Linked DNA regions of Homo sapiens: region 2 is linked to region 1. The links are contacts of gene promoters, found by promoter capture Hi-C in human tissues and cell types (Jung and others, 2019). All regions are on one chromosome and are shown on one strand. Each heading gives the region's core, a stretch centred on a gene start or on the middle of the fragment in contact. The rest is flanking DNA. Distances are from core to core; before and after follow the strand shown. Region 1 holds the start of HYKK (hydroxylysine kinase). Region 2 has its middle 48 kb from the start of CHRNB4.

The links. The method cuts DNA at HindIII sites, captures the fragments that hold promoters and counts their contacts. A contact is called where the count stands out against the background at its distance.
Region 2: a contact is called between a fragment that was not itself captured here and the fragment with the promoter of HYKK in region 1, in 1 of the 25 tissues and cell types used here (pancreas).

The regions. Positions count from the first base shown.
Region 1 is chr15:78,505,858-78,512,374 of GRCh38, reverse strand. It overlaps HYKK (hydroxylysine kinase), which reads right to left and starts at 4,798. Exons shown (of 5, transcript NM_001013619.4): 1 at 4,704-4,798. The HindIII fragment of the contact is 18,918 bases long and covers 1-6,517 here.
Region 2 is chr15:78,686,075-78,692,498 of GRCh38, reverse strand. No RefSeq gene overlaps it. Among named protein-coding and RNA genes, the nearest start is that of CHRNB4, 48 kb to the right of the region's middle. The HindIII fragment of the contact is 4,734 bases long and covers 1,827-6,424 here.

The DNA of each region.
Region 1 (6,517 bases), core at 3,549-6,048:
TTCAGCTCTCCAGACTTCTAATCCATGATTATGTCCTTTTGACTATATTCCTACCGTCTTAGGTTAAACAATAAATTCAAATACAGTGATCTTTTATAGTAACAGTTTGGTTAAATTATAAGATCATCTAATTTATTACACATATTTCAAATAGAAAAATGTAGACTGATGAGCTAAGTATTGTGTGAGTCACTGGAGGAGATAAGGCCAGAGAACCAAAGAAAACCCTGTATTAACTATACGTATTAACCTGAAATGACTGAATCAACACTGAAGTGACTGAGTTTACCTTAAATTGTAAAGAATATGTTTTCCACTGCTGAGAGGAATAGGGGCTTAAAATTAAAATTAAGGTCAATTACAAAAAATAAAGTTACATTTGAGTTTGTGACCTATGAAATTAATATCTGCCAAAACTGTGACAGAAGCTGAGAGGGAGAGAAATTACTACAGCCTAAGGGAAGACATTCTTGAGAAGATAGATTTGAATTTTTATCTTTAAAGATAGAGATGGGGGTCTCACTTTGTTGCCCAGGTTGGTCTCAAACTCCTGGTCTCAAGCGATCCTCCCACTTACGCCTCCCAAAGTGCTGGGATTACAGGTGTGAGCCACTGGACCTGGCCTGAATTGATTTTTTTTTTTTTATTTTTTTCAGACAGGGTCTTGCTCTGTCGCCCAGGCTGGAGTGCAATAGCATGACTACAACTCACTGCAGCCTCAACCACCAGGCTCAATGATCCTGAACCTCAGCCTCCTAGGTGGCTGGGACTACAGAAGCCACCATATCAGGCTAATTTTTTGTATTTTTTGCAGAGACAGGCTTTCACCATGTTGGCCAGGCTGGTCTTGAATTTCTGGGCTTAAGTGATCTGCCTGCCTCTGCTTTGTAATCCCAAAGTGCTGGGATTACAGGCATGAGCCACCACGCTGGGCCTTGAATTTTTAAGTATGATTTGGATACATGGGCGGGGGAGGAGACTGTTTTCTTTCTCTTGGTAATTCCACCCTCTGCTACCCACACCTGGTATATTTTCTGAGCATCCAGCTACATATGAAAGACAATGTAGGTCTTCTGAACATGCTTCAGGAACCAAATATTTAAGGTCGTTAGAATCTCATGCTGTTTTCCCAAAATAGTTTTATTCTAATCCTTCTTTCATACTAAGTTGTAAATAATTGATAACATCGTGAGGGTGAGCTGCATTTTAGGGTATGTTTTGATTGCTGTTCAGGGGATACAGTACTATATAAAAATAATCTTATGGGCTGGGCACAGTGGCTCATACCTGTAATCCCAGCCAGCACTTTGGGAAGCCAAGGTGGGAGAACACTCAAGGCTAGGAGTTCGAGACTAGTCTGGGCAACATAATGAGACCCGCTTCTCTATTTAAAAAAAAAAAAAAAAAAAAAAAAAAGAATCTCATGAAGAGTTAGCTTTTGTGGAAAGTGGAAGATGTATTGCTTCTGACAGGGAAGGGGCATGAGAGAACTTTCTGAGAGGCAAGTGTTCTACATCTTGATTAGGCTTTGGCGACATGGCTTACATTTGTCAAAACTTAACTTAAAACCTAAGTAAACTAGTAAGATCTGTGAATATCACTGAATGTAAAATTTACCTCTAAAAAAGAAAGAGCGCTTCTGAGAAATTGGCTAGGACAGAGGAGGTGGATCTTAGGACTTTCTTGGAACTCTAAAAATCAGACCATATGCCTGTTAATGCCTAATTTATTTGGCTGTATCATAGCAAAAACCCACCTAACTCCAGTGAGGGAAAGGGGATAACATTCAGGGAGATATACCAGAAATCTCCTATATGACCCCCTCCCTGCCTCAGTCCTAGGACTATGGCCTGATGACTCAAGTTAAAATAAGGGTAGGTAAAGACAGTGGTTCACGCCTGTAATCCCACCACTTTGGGAGGCTGAGGTGGGTGGATCACCTGAGGTCAGGAGTTTGAGACCAGCCTGGCCAACATGGCGAAACCCCATCTCTACTAAAAATAAAAATAAAAATAAAAAAAAAATTAGCCGGGCATGGTGGCCGGCGCCTATAATTCCAGCTACTCAGGAGGCTGCGGCAGGAGAATCACTGGAACCCAGAGGGGTGGAGGTTGCAGTGAGATGAGACTGCGTCACTTCACTCCAACCTGGGCGAAAGACCAAAATTCCATCAAAAAGAAAGAAAAGTAAAGAAAAGAAAGAAAAGAGAGAAGAGAGAGCAAGAGAAAGAAGAAAGAAAGAAAGAAAGAAAAGAAAGAAGAAAGAGAGAGAGAGAAAGAAAGAAAAGAAAGAAAGAAAAAAAAAGAGAAGAGAAAATAAGGGAGAGGTAACCCTCAAACGCTAACCACCCCCTAGCCCCTGCCATGGCCTTCCCTGATCCTCCTACCCAAAGTGATTGCTCCAGCCTCTTAACTTGCATAGCTTGTGCCACTGATCGGTTTCCATCACCTGTTACTGCAAGTTAATGCCTTCTTGACAATCATGTTTCCTGTTTACTTTCTAACCAGGCATTTGCTTTCAGAAGCAAGTTAAGCCGTTCAGATTTTGTTCACTGAAGGTACTGTGACAAAGCCTAAATGGAGTTTCAAAACAATCTTTGCACTTGAAACTTCTGGGAACCAACATATCCTGTCACACTGTATTTAGGCTTAAAACTTTACAAGGAATTTTAACATTCTTTCTGGAGATATGTAAACTGGTATAAGGTAAGTATTCAAAATGCAATATGGACTGAAGCATTAACTCCAAGATGAAATCCTGGAGTCATTTTCAACTCCCAAAGCGTTAACGATGTCAGAACAATTCTGAATTTGAAATGAATGATAAGTTCTTAAAGTTGTAAGGAACCTTAGAGGCAACTGGTGAAGGCCAATCTCCTTTCTATTCCAGATGTTCCCATACAATCTTTGACTTGTTAAGCTCCTCTTAGGAGAGCGCTGTTTTCCATAGCCATGTAAAGCAAGGTTGTTAGCTCTGGCCATCCAAATAGACTGATGTAATAAAAGGCTGTGCTGGGAGAAATAGGACATATTTTAGTCCCAGTTCTGCTACCTAACCTCTGAAACTCTGGACTAGTCATGTCTCCTCTAAAACAGAGTTGGATTAGATTATTACTAAAAGTCTCCTCTAGCTCTAGTATTCCATGCCACTAAAGTTCTTTAAGTTCGCCTTTTTTCTTTATATAAGCGCTCCATATCATAGAACTAATGGCACAGATCAAGTCAACTCTTGAGAGTAAATAAAAACAAAGAAAAAAATATGTTTATCAGACATGTCTGTCTTAACCAAATGTCTCCTTTGTATGGAGGGGAATTTTTTTTTTTTTGTTTTTGAGACAAGGTCTCTGTCACCCAGTCTGGAGTACAGTGGCACAATCACTGCTTACTGCAGCTTCCAACTCCTGGGCTCAAGGGATCCTCCCACCTGAGCTTCCCAAATAGCTGGGACTGCAGGCAGGTGCCACCATGCCTGGCCTTTTTTTTTTTTTTTTTTTTGGAGAGAGAGGGTCCCACTATGTTGCCCAGGCTGGTCTCGAACTTCTGGGCTCAAGCAATCCTCCTACCTTGGTCTCCCAAAGTGCTGGGATTACAGGTGCAAGCCATCATGGCTGTCTTTTTGATTTTATTATTTTTATTTTTTTAGAGACAGTGTCTCGCTATGTTGCCCACTCACACATTTTTAAAAATTATTAACTTTTTTTCCTACTTCATTGAAAGGGAGAGGAGGAATTCAGGTACTATAGGCTGTTGGTCTATATATCCGGCCAACAGTATTTAGCTCCTGAAAAAGCCCGCAGGAAGCAAGTGTGATTTCCAACTCCAAGATCTGCGTCAGAATCTCACCACCTTTGTCCTGCAGCCGGGAGGGGGCTGGAACTTAAGCTCTGTACTTTGTGCAAAGTATACCAGACAAGAAACAGGAGTCATTCTTGATTCTTTCCTGTCCCTCACTCCCAACGTGTAACAAAGTCTAGTAAATTCTACCTTAGCATGTCTTCCAACTCTACCTTTCTTCTCCTACATTCCCTTTTGCTGCGTCCTTCCAAGGGATTATACCCAGTCAATCTCTGTATTCTCAGCCCCTAGGCTAGTCCCTTATTTAATATTAAATGGTGAACCAAGGGTGACCTTCATTCCACAGACTCACGGGGCAGTTCAACCCCAAGGGGATCATGAAACAGAAAGGTGGGGAATCTAGCATCTGCAGTTTTTCAAAGACAACAGTGCATTACTAGGTGCTTTTAAGGGTCTTCCTGGTGGGTGAAGGGGAAAAAGTGGTGGGTGAGCGGGCTGCAGAGGGGCTGCTGAACCAAGAGGCAGGAAAAGAGAGGAGGAGGGCGCATGAGTAAGTGAGGTTCAGCGGAGCTCAGAGACTGCTCCCAGTAGACACCGGCCAGGCGCCGGCACAGCCCTCGGCCAGCGACCCCACACAGACCCGGGAGGGCTGGCCTCGACAGCTTCTCGGGTGCCACGCTTTCATTCTGGGGGCCCAGCTCAGCCCTCCTAGGTTACAGGTGAGGTCCGGGAAGAAGGGTGACTTGCCCATCACGCACGCAGCGAGCTGAGGATAGCGCGGGCTGGAGGAGCCTGAGGCATAGGACTCCCGGCTCCACACTTGCAGCGAGCCTCCCTGCCCTCGGGGGCGACCCCGACTCCCGCAGCGGGGACGCAGGGCTCGTCTCTGCTTCCCCCTCCTTGGCTCACCGGCAGCGACCCGACGTCCTGGGGTGGATCCCGCTTTCCCGCAGACAGGTAGTGCGGCCTCGGCCGCGCACCGGCGCTAGGAGGTAGAGCAGGGGCCGCAGCGCCCGCGCCCCTCCTCCAAGCCCCGCGAGTCCTGACTTCTGATTGGCTCCTCCCGGTCCCTCGCCGCCCAGTCAGCGCAGACTACTGGATTTTTTTCCCGGCCCCGCCTAGGAGGCTGCGAACAGAAATTCAGAGATTCGGCTTCTGTTGACTTTCTGCAACTCCGCCCAGCCTTCTCACAGTGAGTATCCCAGTCAGAATCCGGCTACCTTTTCATGAACCGGACTCCTTATTCCTGATTGGCTCTCCGGGTTGCCGCCCCACCCCGAGTGGGCAGGCTTTCGGCTCTTGAGTGGCACCTCCGAGTTTCGCAGGGTCCACGTTGTCGTGGCGGTAACACTGACAGCTCCTCACCCGCATCCACGTTTTTGTTTCCTAGCCTTCATTCCTTCTGTTGGAGGCACGTATCCTGGAAGTGATACGCTTAGAAAGCGTGGCCCCAGAGAGACTCGCAATCCCAGCCCCAGGAACTGTAAGGGTCCTGATTGGAAGGCCTGAGTAAGGCCTGGCTGCGTTCCGCAGGAGGATGCTGGAATGTTAGAACCCGAACAGTTTAGGCAGGGCGCAGATGGCTCACGCCTGTAATCCCAGAAATTTGGGAGACCGAGGCGGGAGGATCACCTGAGGTCAGGAGTTCGAGACCAGCCTGGCCAACATGGTGAAACCCCTCTCTACTAAAAATACAAAAATTAGACTCAGGGGGTATGTCTGCAGCTGCAGAAAGATGTATGGGAACAGACACACAACTCTCCCTCCGAGATAAGCACAACAAAGAGACACAGAAGCAGTCCAAGCCTCTGATAAACTCTCCCACTCCGAATCCTTAAAAACTTACTTAGTCTGTAAGAGAGTGTGCCTCTGACCTAACTTGGCCAGACGCCCCTCTCAGGTTTTCTCTAAAATAAACCTCTTATGACCACCAAGCCACTTTTCGTGTTTCTTTCCTCTTTCTTTAATTCTTACACCGAGTAGTTGGGATTACAGGGGCCCACCACCACGCCTTTATCTAGGTAGTGGAATCAGTGGGCTCTCTTTCTGCAGGAAAGTCCGCAGAGACCCCATGATTTTCAGAAAGCTGCACGAGATTCATGGAGTAACAGCCAGGTTAGTTGGATGGTCTTAACTGTTAAGGGCATGAGGCGCTGATAAACAGCTTGATGCCCTTCTCCAGCCAAGCAGGACTTCTCCGATAAGTCAGAGCCCTCTATCTACTGTAGGCTACTGGAAGAGAGTCCTGGGTACTGGTCCACTCATGCCTGCAAATTGGTTTCTTATTTTGTTTTTGCCAATGCACATCCACCCTTTGTTTTCTGTCAGGATATAACACACTCGGATTATCTATAGTCACCCTGATTAACTTGGATGATTCCCAGACCCCTATCAACCACCTACTGAGGGAAGCTTCTTCTCCTGCTTTAGATATGGTTCTTACCTGCTTCACTTCTAATCTCCAAAAGGCAGGGCTGTTTTTCACAACCCCAGGGGAACATAATTAATATCTCATTCCTTTAGATTGTCAAAGAGTGATTTTGACTTGGATTTTTCTGTAACCAGAATTGGAATCCTATTGGCTCCCTTAGGCCCCTCTGCATGCTTTTTGCCTTGAGTGGCTTCTGAGTTATTTCCACCTGTCATTATTCCAGCTCTACTGGTCTTTCTCTACTTCTCTTGGGATGAGGGAATGGGAATTAAGATTGAATCTGGAAATTGTG
Region 2 (6,424 bases), core at 2,944-5,443, 180 kb before region 1:
CCGAAACCCGCCTTGGTTTACCTATGTACTGGGTCACCCAGTCCTGTGGACCTTTGAGTCTCAAGCCCATGCACACCAGGGCAAAGGCCTTTGGAACCCTAGTATTCTTCCTGGGGTGGGAAACACACTGACTCCTCTGCATTATCCCCCTCACCCCCACCCTAATGGCTCTGCAGGGGAGAAGGGCTTTGATGCATTATTCAGGGATCTTCAGGGCCAGCTCTCAGCTGATTCCCAACATGTGATTCACTATGAGCTGGAGCTCAGCTGAGCTCGGGGAAGACCCAGGTAAATAGAAGCCATCCCTGGCCTGGACTGGGAGCAGGGGGATGGGGCAGGACTCTGATCAGCATCAGTCTTGCCAGGCAGGGGCCCAGAAGCTTGGGGGGATTCTGGGGATGCCTTGGCCTGAGGCTGTAGGATCGTCCAAGATGGGTGTCCAGGAAGAGGGGAACATGAGCCACTGAAGCCATAGCCGAGACCCAGGCCATGGCACATGATAATATGTGGGATTCCTGGGGCAGGGCCTGTGTCTGGCATGTGGCAAGAGCTCAAAAACTAATGGTGGGATCAAATCCCCATGAGCAGAGCCCATCCAGGGTCACCAAAGAGCCTCCTGTCACCCTGGCCTGTCTCACTGGGGTTCTGCCTTGTTGATGCCGAAAATCTGAAGCTGATTACAGTAAGCAGTCAGTAGCCCTCTCCCAGCCTGGTCTTTCCTGGCCTCAGGCCACATACCACTTCCAGGAAGCCCTTGTTTTCCGCTGCAATGTGGCTTCCTCTGCTCCGAGTGTGGATCTGGTGTGAGCTTGGCATTGGAAGTCGCTTGGCTGGATTCAGACTCTAGGTCCCCAGTACAGCAAAGCCACTCATTAACCATGTGGTCTCAGGCAAGTGACTTAACCCCTCTGAGCCTTGATTTCCTCATCCATAAATGAAAACTAATACTAGTCCCTATTATCAGAGCTCACAGAGTGAAGTGCAGAGCACAGTGCTTGGCATATGAGAAGCACTAAGCATGTGTTAACTGGATGAACGAATGAGGAAATGAAGGAAGTGGGGCCTGCCCAGGGATTGACCTAGGGAAGCATCTCCTGGCTTCCTCCCGCTAAGGCTCTAGCCAAACCCTCCCCATCACTGAGAAGGCCTCGGGGCCAGCAGGTGATGTGAGGAGGAGAGAGTGACAGTGAGGAACACCTCCAGACCTGGGAGGGTCCTGTGGGGGCCCTTCCTGGCACCAGGAGATGAGGGAGAAAAGGATTAAAGGCAGGAGCTTTCCCAGGACGAATCAAGTCATTATAGGGTTGGATTGCAGGCGCTCAGTTTACATGATAAAGTTCCTTTTGGAAGGGGTGGAAATACTGGTTTTAAGAAACGATTTAGCTTGCATGACATGACTGCAAAGGGCAGAAATAAATATGAATGCCTAATCCAAATTCAGTCCTCTCCAAAAAGCATCCAACTCTCTGAAAGTTGGTTTTGAAGGAAGCTTTTCCCCCACTCCCATCCAGACCCTGCTCCTAAAAGGCAAGGTGTCCAATCATCTGGCAGGGGAAACAGCTTCAATTCTGCCCAGCCCTAGTTGTTCTTAATTAAAGAACAATCTGTTTTTTTTTTTTAACTCTTTGTTCTGTGATCTTTTTTACCCCATCTCTTTTCAAAGGTGTTTTCTTTTGTTTTGTTGAGACAGGGTCTCACTTTGTCTCCCAGGCTGGAGTGCAGTGGTGTGATCTCAGCTCACCGCAACTTCTGCCTCCCAGGATCAAGCAATCCTCCCACCTCACCCTCCCGAGTAGCTGGGACTATAGGTGCACGCCATCATGCCTGGCTAATTTTTGTATTTTTTTACTGTAGAGATGGGGTCTAGCCATGTTGCCCAGGTTGGTCCAAAACTCCTGGGCTCAAGCAATCCTCCTGCCCCAGCCTCCCAAAGTACTGGGATTACAGGCATGAGCCACCTTGGCTGGCAAAAGCTGTGATCTTTATGCATCAGAGAGGAACATCAAGAAAGCAGAAACTTGCTTGGCTTGCCAGATCTTGGGAGGTTTTGTTCCCATGCTAGGTCTTGGGCCTCTCTCACCTGGAGCTACAGCAGACATTTCAGCCATATCTCACAATACTGATTTCAGCTCTCCTCTCTCCCACTACATGACAACCAGAAGCTTTATTAGAAAGCCTTAGCCTGACATTGTGACCTCTACATTGAGGTAAAGAACTAGATAGAAAAAAGGTCTATCTAGTCCAAAATGTCAGAGAGGCCAGGTGCGGTGGCTCATGCCTGTAATCCCAGCACTTTGGGAGGCTGAGGCAGGCAAATCACCTGAGGTCAAGAGTTTGAGACCAGCCTGGCCAACATGGTAAAACCCCATCTCTACCAAAAATACAAAAATTAGCCAAGTGTGGTGGCAGGTGCCCATAGTCCCAGCTACCTAGGAGGCTGAGGTACAAGAATCACTTGAACCCGAGAGCCGGAGATTGCAGTGAGCTGAGATTGCACCCTTGCACTCCAGCCTGGGTGACAAAGCAAGACTTAAGTCTCAAAAAAAAAAAAAGAAAAGAAAAAAGTCAAAGAGAAACTCTGGGTTAGAGGAAGGGTTGTCCTCCAATGAGCATGGCCTTAGGCTTTCAGCCCCTCTAAGAATGAGTTGTTCCTTGCTTTTTGTCCTCCAATGACCACATCCTTAGGCTTTCAGCCCAAGAATGAGTTGTTCCTTGCTTTTTTTCCTCCATCTCTCATTGGCCCAGATGTGGGGAAGGGAGGAGTTAGACCAGGGTAGGATCCAAGCACTCCTGATCCTCTGAGCCAAATATGGTTCTCCAGATAGCACAATTTCCCTGAAAAATGCAGTCCAACATGGAGAGGGTGAGAAACATGCTTCATCTTCTACTACACTGGCTTTAAGAACTAATCTTAAAAACATGACAAGAGGCCAGGCGCAGTGGCTCACACCTGTAATCCCAGCACTTTGGGAGGCTAAGGTGGGCAGATGACCTGAGGTCAGGAGTTCGAGACCAGCCTGGCCAACATGGTGAAACCCCGTCTCTACTAAAAATAAAAAATTAGCTGGGAGTGGTGGCACGCACCTGTAGTCCCAGCAACTCAGGAGGCTGAGGCAGGAGAATCGCTTGAACCCAGGAGGCAAAAGTTGCAGCAAGCTGAGATCATGCCACTGCACCCCAGCCTGGGCGACAGAGTGAAACTCCATCTCAAAAACAACAAAAAATGAAAAGAACATTCACTATAGAGCTGTTCATAACTGAAAAAGATTAAAAACAACCTAAATGTCTACTTATAATGACCAGATAAATAAATCATGATACATTCATGCAGTGGGATTATATGCAGTTGTTGAGTGAGATAGCTCTAGATATAATGATACAAAACAATCTGCAAGACATATTATTAAGAATACTTAATGTGTGAGCCACCAGGCACAGTGGCTCACACCTGCAATCCCAGCACTTTGGGAAGCTCAGGCAGAAGGATGGCTTGAGCTCAGGAGTTTGAGACCAGCCTGGGCAACATAGTGAGACCACATCTCTACAAAAGCAAAAAAATTAGTCGGGTGTGATGGCACACACTTGTGTTCTCAGCTACTTGGGAGGCTGAGGTGGGAGGATTGCTTGAGTAGGTGAGGTCGAGGCTGCAGTGAGCTATGATTGTGTCACTACACTGCAGCCTTGGTGACAGAGCAAAACCCTGTCTCAAGAAAGAAAAAGGTTATCAGAAAGATGCAGGAACAATATGCCAGGTGTAGTAATACTTGTGTGAAAATATATTTAAAAATACTATTGAAACCTAGATGCTGAGCATGCTTAGACCCTCTCAGAAAAGATACACAAGAATGCAGTAACACTGGTTGTCTCTTGGGAGGGGAGCTGGGGCCTGGAGGGGGAAGGGATAGGAGAGAGATTCACTCTTCACTCTAGGTCCTTTGCATCTTTTGAATTTTGTACTCTATGCATGTACTATCTATTCAAAAACAAACACAGATGGTCCCCAGCTTATGATGTTGTATTTTTTTTTTTTTTTTTTGAGATGAAGTTTTGCTCTTGTTGCTCAGGCTGGAGTAAATGGCACAATCTTGGCTCAATGCAATCTCTGCCTCTCAGGTTCAAGTGATTCTCCTGCCTCAGCCTCCCAAGTAGCTGGGATTATAGGCATGTACCACCACCCATGGCTAATTTTTTGTATTTAGTAGAGACGGGGTTTCACCACATTGGTCAGGCTGGTCTTGAACTCCTGACCTCAGGTGACTCACCTGCCTTGGCTTCCCAAAGTGCTGGGATTACAGGCGTGAGCCAACATGCCCTGCCCCACAATGGTTTGAATTAATATTTTTTGACTTTACAATGGTGCAAAAGTGATACACATTCAACAGGAACTGTACTTCAAGTACACATATAACCATTCTGATTTTCACTTTCAGTATTCAATAAATTACATGAGATAGTCAACATCTGATTATAATATAGGCTTCGTGTTAGATGATATTGCCCAGCTGTAGGCTAATGTAAGTGTTCTGACCATGTTTAATGTGGGCTGGGCTAAGCTATGAGGTTCAGTAAGTTGGGTGTATTAATTGCATTTGTGACTTACAATATTTTTCTTTTACAGTGGGTTTATTGGGAAGTAACTCCACAGTAAATGGAGGAACATCTGACACTACACACAATGGGACATTATTCTGCCTTAAAAAGGAATAAAATTCTGATACATCTTACAACATAGATGAACCTGGAAAACATGCTAAATGGAATAAGAGACAAAAAGACAAATCTTTATGAGTCCACTTACATTAGGTACCTAAAATAGGCAAATTCACAGAGACAAAAGTAGAATAGTGATTATTAGGGGCTGGGGGAGAGGGAATGGGGAGTTACTGTGGAATGGCTACAGCGTTTCTGTCTGGAATGATGAAAAAGTTCTGGAAATGGATAATGGTGATGGTTGTACAGCATTGTGAATGCACTTAATGGCAGTGAACTGTACACTTAAAAATGGTTAAATGGTATGTTTTACATTACAGACATTTTACCACAATAAAAACCAAATATATAACATAATCTATTTTAAAATAAATGTTTTACGATTTCAGTGTCTAACGACCACTTAATGAAAATCCACCGCCTCCAGTGGGAGTATGTGACAACCAAGAGCCTGAGCTTTGGAATCAAACTGAACGGAGTTGGACTCATGCCTCCACCATAACTAGTTTTGTCACCTTATAAATTAACCTTCTAGAGTAGAAGTCAGTAAACTCTTCCTATAAAGGGTTAGACACTGAATATTTTAGGCTATGCAGGCCATATATGGTTTCTGCTGCAAGCAACTACTCAATGTAAATGGCAGCAGCCATAGACAACACATGAATGAATGAACAAGGCTATGTTCCAGTAACAACGGGCAGTGGCTGGATTTGGCCCACAGGCTACAGTTAATCAATCTCTGCTCTCAGTTCCCACATTTGTAAGATAGGGACAATAATATAACTACCTCATAGGGCTGTTGTGGGAATAAATGGGGCAATGTGTCAAATTCTTTGCTAAATGCTTTATGTATAAAAAGTAAGCCAATAAATGTTTGTTTTTGTTGATGTGGTTGTTGAGGTAGATGCTGAGAATGCAGAAGAAGAAAGCCACATTTATGGAACACCTACTGTAAACATACTAGGGCCAACTCTTAATGCGACAGGATTTCATTTGTTATTTTTATTAGTTACTTGATCAAAACATCTCATGTTGGCATGGAGCTTCGTGCTTTGGGTCCATTAGCTCGTTTCATCTTCCTGATTACTCTCTGGGGTAAATGTTCTGAATCAGGAAGCCAGACCTCCGAGGTCACCCTGCTAGGGAGAGCAGAGACAAGGTTTGAAACCTCAGCCATCTTATTCCAAAGACTGGGTTCTCAACCAAGGGTGGTACTGCCCACTTCTACTCCACTCTGTTCCCTCCACCCTGGGAGATTTGGAAATGTCTGGGGCTTTTTTTTTTGTGGGGAGGAGGGTTTTATAAGAATGAGGAGGCACTGTTGGGGTTTAGTGACCAGGGTCCAGGAATGCTAAAGGCAGACTCGTTTAAATGTCTGTAAAACAAAAAATTATCCAGTCCCAAATGGACTCCCAAATATCAGTGGTGCTCCACGTCATGCTGCCCAGATGTGACTCCATTACCACCCTGCCTTGAGCAGCTCACAGTCCTACGGGGAGACGGTGCACTGGAGCACAGATTCTTTCTGTTTCCCTCTAAATCTGCATGAAAGGCAGTGCGGTGTAATAGAAAGGCCGCTGGATTGTCAGAGGCTAAAACCACTGACTTGACCATTGAACAGCTGTGCAAAGTAGGGCAACTGGCTTGACCTCTCTGGGCTTCAGTATCCTCAGAGTGAAAAGAGGATCCTGACACATGCCTGTCCCCTTTTAGG